Linked DNA regions of Homo sapiens: region 2 is linked to region 1. Evidence: promoter capture Hi-C in human tissues and cell types (Jung and others, 2019). All regions are on one chromosome and are shown on one strand. Each heading gives the region's core, a stretch centred on a gene start or on the middle of the fragment in contact. The rest is flanking DNA. Distances are from core to core; before and after follow the strand shown. Region 1 holds the start of FUT4 (fucosyltransferase 4). Region 2 has its middle 19 kb from the start of KDM4E.

Region 1 (3,030 bases), core at 217-2,716:
TGCTGCGAGTTCTCGAAAGCCAGGTAGAACTTGTAGCGGGCCACTGTGTGCAGGAGCCCAATTTCGGGCACCGGCTGCCCCGGCCCGCCCCGGCCGAACACGTCCACGGTCACATGTTGGCTCAGTTGGTGGTAGTAGCGGACCCGGGCCTGGCGCTCGTCCCAGTGGCTCACCACCCATGCCACCAGCCCCTGTTTCCTGGACAGTGGCGGGGCCAGGCCTGAGGGCGGGTCGCCGGGGTGGCTTCTGGGGTAGAGGTAGCCATAAGGCACAAAGACGTCCGAGTCCGCCCGGTAGGAGAGCGTCCAGTTGAAGAGGTTACTTGCCAGGCTTCGCAGCCCCGGGGAGTGCGAGGGCGACTCGAAGTTCATCCAAACCCAGCGCTGGCCCGGGGGCCTGGGGCTGGAGGTCGCCAGGGCTTCTGCCGCCGCCGCTGCCTCCTCGTAGTCCAACACGCGCAGATCCACCTCCTCGGCAGTGTGCGCCTGGATGCCCCAGGGCGGGGGCCAGTCGGGGGGCCCCTTCACGAGGTCGCGGTGGTGGAAAAGCACGGCCTGAGCCTCTCCGTAGGACGCGCGGTCGGTGAGCAGGCGGCAGCCGCTGATGTTGAAGCGCAGCCGGCAGTCAGGGGGCGGCCTCGGGGCGCTATCGCGCCCCCCGAAGGGCTCCCACCACAGCAGCACGCCCACCGGTCGCGACGGGGTTGGCGACGCCCAGGGCAGCGGCGGCAGCTGCCCCCAGCAAGCGTAGGTGATCAGCGCCGTACACGTCAAGCCGGCGGCCGCCAGCACACAGACGGTCCATGGCAGCCCCCGGCCTCGGCGCCACCCGCGCCGCCCGCCCGCCGCCGCCGTCGGCGAGCCCCACGGTGCCCCCATGGCGCGAACAGGCAGCGCTGCCTCCGCTCGCCACGCGTCCGCAGGCGTGGAGGAGCGGCACCGGCTCTCATGCTGTAGCTGCGGCTCCAGCCGTCGCTGCCGCTCGCCGCTGGCCCGGGAATGGAAGGGGGCGGTCCCAGAATGCAAAGGCCGCGGGCCCTGCCCTGCTCCTCCCAAGTGCCGGGCGGGGCGAGCCGCCAGGGCAAGGTGAGCTGGCCAGGACGCCCAACCGGGCACCGCCCGTCCCTTTCTTCCACTGCGCCCGGGGCCCAGCCGGCCCGACCAGGCCCCGGGAGCCTCCTGCGGCGCCTCCGCCCACTCCTTCTCCCAGCCCGCGCCCGAGGGCTTCCGGGCCGCGCCCCACAAGCGCCTCATCCGCTACTCTTGATTCTCTCTCAACTGATCCGGTTTCCCTCTGCGCGCGCCCACCGCCCTGGCCCTCGCTCACTGTGGCCCGAACCCTCGCCTTCCAGAGGGAAGGCCCGGTTCATCCCTGGGAAGGTACAGGAGGCTCGAGACCTTCTAAAGCAGCTGCCGCGCAGGAGCAGGCCCTAGAACAGACGGAAGGCGGACCCGGCGCCGCGGAACGGAGGATAGCGTCGGCTTCCTGCCGTTGGGCCTAGCCACCCGCCAGCGACGCCCGCCGGAGGGAGGGATTGAGGGAGGGAGGGAGTCCAGAGGCCGGGGGAACGTGCGAGCAGAGGCGCGGCCACCGCATCCGTGGCCAGGATCTCGTGGCCCGCCGAGACGGTCGAATTGTGGAGGCAGCCCGCAGCGGCGTGGCCTTCAGAGTCTCTGCATTTGGTGAAGAACTTAAGTTTTCAATGTGAGTGCTCATAAGAACATTTCCTTTGCCTGCCAGCCCAGTAAAGGATAGAGAACAAAATGTTTTCTTAGCAATCAAAACATGTTCTTTCCTTTGGTCCCCTACCAAATAAGTCTGACTTGCCGGCTCATAGTAGTATTGCTTGTACCAAGACGCACAGGACTCATAAACCAAAGATGAAGATGTGACCCCCCCAAGGCCCTTGTCGTCAAGGAATTTATTGCCTGTTCAGTGAGATGAATGAATGAATATCACTATTAATTTTACCAAGCACTTAAAAAACATTTTCTGCACCCATGAAAGTTATGCAAAATAGTTTGGATGATAAAATGATGACGAAGATAAATATTCTAGCACCCAAGTTAAGGGTGTAAAGACAGTATCGCACTGGCCTCTTCTACCTTATTAGGCGACACTGGAGACATCTACGTCTACAGTCACTTGAGAAATTTTTTACCTACGGGTTGAATTTGAATTTCTGGGTGTTCGCTTTGGTTTATGATATTCAACTTTTATTCAGGGGATTTCCAAATAGATCAGGGGCGGGGCTGCTGACCTAAGGAGAGGAGAAAGTTTTGAGAGAAGTTTTAGTAGATCACAGCTGTGCATCAGTGGAGTCCCACTGATACTAGGGGAGAAATAGACAGTGCTGGGAATGGGGCAATCCTGCCAGGTGTTTTTGATGTTATGCCTACAGAAAATAAATTTGCGTTAGCCATATGAATTTAAGAATGTTTTCATTAAAAATCAAGTATAGGCCAGGCGCGGTGGCTCACGCCTATACTCCCAGCACTTTGGGAGGCCGAGGCGGGCGGATCCCGAGGTCAGGAGATCGAGACCATCCTGGCTAACACGGTGAAACTCTGTCTCCACTAAAAATAAAAAAAAATTAGCCAGGCTTGGTGGCGGGCGCCTGTAGTCCCAGCTACTCGGGAAGCTGAGGCAGGAGAATGGCGTCAACCCAGGAGGCGGAGCTTGCAGTGAGCCCAGATCGCGCCACTGCACTCCAGCCTGGGCGACAAAGCGAGACTCCGTCTCGGAAAAAAAAAAAAAAAAATCAAGCATTGTGTGTAAAAGCTTCTATAAAAGTGGCTTCCGGGTGGCGCTCTCTGCAGGGCCACAGCCTCAGTTTGGAGACTAGATGGAGGATGTTAGGTGTTCTGGCTAGGCCCATCAACCTAGTAACATTTCCTCCTGCACAGTAAAACCTTTCATAATGCTTCTGGGGTTTTTTGTTTGTTTGAAAAACAGAAATTAGAAATCAAATATTTTATTTGAAATTAGACATTTCAGTGACTTTTTTCCACTCTTACTTTTAATTAAAAG
Region 2 (3,030 bases), core at 287-2,786, 460 kb before region 1:
ACGAATAGAACACAATAGAGAATGCAGAAATAAATTTATGCACTTACAGCCAGCTCATTTTCAACAAAGGCAATAAGAATGTGCATTGGAGAAAGAACACACTCTTCAATAAATGGTGCTGGGAAAACTGGATATCCAAAAGTGGAAGATTGAAATTATGCCCCATCTCTCACCATACACAAAAATCAAATCAAAATGGATTAAAGACTTAAATGTGTGACCTGAAACTATAAAACTACTAGAAAAAAATTGGAGAAATACTTTGGAACATTGGTCTGGGCAAAAATTTCCTGAGTAAGATCTTAAAAGCACAAGCAACTAAAGCAAAAGTAGACAAATGAGGTTATATCAAATTAAAAAGCTCCTGCATAGGAAAGGAAACAATTAACAAACTGAAGAGACACCCTGTTGAATTTAATTGAGTGCTTTTCTGTATCTTTTGAAATTAATCCTACAGAATGGGAGAAAAGATTTGCAAACTATTGGGCATTTTTATTTATTTCATTGGCATCTAAAAGATTAAATGTATCAAAAGTTGCCTCCTTACAAAAGGCAAACAGGTGCATGTTTTTACAGCTTCAATAGCTACAGTGTCCAAGAGGGTTCTTGTACATATTTTGAACCAAAACCAAGGATTTCTAAACTAAAAAATCCCTGTGCCCTGGTATGTGTGACTTTATTGTAAACAGTCATGCCACTGGAAAAGAAAGTGTCTACTTTATCCACTCATTTTGGCCTGGATTTCCCCTCTAAATTTCCCCTCTAAAGGAAACTCCTAAAGATTTTGCTGCTGGGGCAATAATCAACTTATTTAATTAGTCCTCTCTGCTTTTACTTCTCTATTTGCTCCCGCTTCTCCCATAGGAACCTTTTCTCTAGTTGATCCTGCTTCTCCCATGGGAACCTCTTAGTCAACTAAAATCTCTCTTCTCAGTCCCCTGCTGACTATATGCACTGCCAACGATCTGTGTTGTAATGATCTTTGCTCTGCACCTCCAAACTCTTTCTTGGTTGTAAGAAAAATTTAAAAAGTATATCTCCATTTGTAAGGGAGTCTCCTTCTCTGCACCTGAAGGAGAAGGACGATTAAATCACTGGAAGCTTTTTAGAATGGAGAAGTCAAAGACTTAGGTCTGTGTAAGGAGTCTCACCTTTGACCATTTTGTCCTAACTAGGCTTCCTATATGCTTTTCTTTTTCTCAAGAGGTAATGGTGTTTAGGCCTGAAATCTGATGCAATGACAACCTAACCAACAATAATTAGGCTCATCAGTCAAGGAAATTACAAGGACCCTTTGACTAAAGTCTTTTGCTGAAATGAATAAAACGCTCAGGGGTTGAAGAAAATATCCTCAGATAAATAGATTTTGAGAAAGATGAATAGACCCTTAGAAGGATAGATGATGGTTTGTAACAAGGTCTGTCTGGGTGTGGTGAAGTCTCCTTTCCCGCAATGAGTTAATTTTCAGAGGATTAATGACAATTGAGTTTCTTTTGTAAAAGCTATCTTAAGGCAGATGGAGGGACCCTCAGAGAGCCTTGCATCTTGTGTTTTTCAAGTTCCTGCAGCTCAAAATAATCACTATAATAAAGCAATATATTTTTAGGGTAGCATTACCTAAATTTCTTCAATGCTGGCTTTGTTTAATGAGCAATTTAAGCATAATTGTTTAGAATGAGTAAATTAGGAGGAGTATAAATGGGATGGAAGTTTGTGGATGAACTTGACATGGTTTCTGAGCCCTTTTAAAGTAAATTAAAATGCTGAAATATGCTGCTCAACCATTCTGATTTTGTGTTTTGGAAGAAGGGTCTCCGATGAAGAGAGGATAAATGTGATACTGACTAGTGGGGAATTTCTCAATTAGCTTTAATGATTGGGGTAGGCTACTAGAAATTGTAATGAAGAGAAAATAACCGTTCACTGCTTTCATTCAGAAAATATGGAATGTGTCTTAACTAGTTGGAAAACACTGAGTAATGAAATGATGAGCTGGTTGAGGCTGATAATCAATGCATGGCCATATTCATTTATTTAACTGATATTTGACCATTTAGTATGTGTAACATCCTACCAGGGCCAGGGAAGTAATGGCAAACAAGGTAGATGTAGTTTCTTCCATCATGCAGTGTCACAGAAGAACTAGATGTACACATGTACGCAGTATAAGTCAGAAAATTAATCATTTTTTAAGTGCTATGAAGAAAAAGTATTATTCACTCCCTGTGTTCTGTGTTAGTATCTGCAAATAGATGAATGGTTGAATTGAACTCATGTCAGCCATTTTTGTTGTCATTTATCTGTCATAGTGTCATTTATTAGACATAGTGCTATGACACTATGTCATTTATTAGACATAGTGCTAGTATCACAGGTTAATGTTTGAAAATAGATAAATTCTGCTAGTGATACATCTTTTTATATGATGTAAAGAAGCTAGGTGTATCTGGGCATTAATAAACATAAAAGGGATTGTATTATGAGGAAACATTTTTCTAAAATTATGAAATGGGCTTCATCTACAAAATGCTGATATAAAACAGTTCAAAATTGCTCACTCTGGCTGGACATGATGGCTCATGCCTGTAATCCCTGAATTTGGGGAGGCAGACGCAGGAGGATTGCTACATAGCGAGACTCCATCTCTACAAATGTAAAAAATTAGCTGGGTGTGATGGGAGTAGTCCCAGCTACTCAGTAGGCTGAGGTGGGAGGATCACTTGAGCCCAGGAGGTTGAGGCTTCAGTGAACTATGATTGGGTCACTGCACTCTAGCCTGGGTGACAGAGCAAGACAAAAAAAAGAAAGAAGGAAAGGAAAGGAAAGGAAAAAGGAGAATGCTTACTCCCTAAGTTTTCACTAGAAACTAAAGTTACTAAGAGTTAAAATTCTAATTAACATTGGGAGGCCAAGGCAGGTGGAACACTTGATGTCAGGAGTTCAAGACCAGCCTGGCCAACATGGTGAAACCCTGTCTCTACTAAGAATAATAAAAAAAAAAATTAGCTGGGCATGGTGGTGCATGCCTGT

Evidence for each region. The method cuts DNA at HindIII sites, captures the fragments that hold promoters and counts their contacts. A contact is called where the count stands out against the background at its distance.
Region 2: a contact is called between a fragment that was not itself captured here and the fragment with the promoter of FUT4 in region 1, in 1 of the 25 tissues and cell types used here (H1 embryonic stem cells).

What each region holds. Positions count from the first base shown.
Region 1 is chr11:94,542,357-94,545,386 of GRCh38, reverse strand. It overlaps FUT4 (fucosyltransferase 4), which reads right to left and starts at 1,466. Exons shown (of 1, transcript NM_002033.4): 1 at 1-1,466. The coding sequence starts at 1,253. PIWIL4-AS1 (PIWIL4 antisense RNA 1) reads left to right here. Exons shown (of 5, transcript NR_135093.1): 5 at 1-55. RefSeq lists a silencer at 709-1,278. The HindIII fragment of the contact is 7,218 bases long and covers 1-3,030 here.
Region 2 is chr11:95,005,134-95,008,163 of GRCh38, reverse strand. No RefSeq gene overlaps it. Among named protein-coding and RNA genes, the nearest start is that of KDM4E, 19 kb to the left of the region's middle. The HindIII fragment of the contact is 4,646 bases long and covers 1-3,030 here.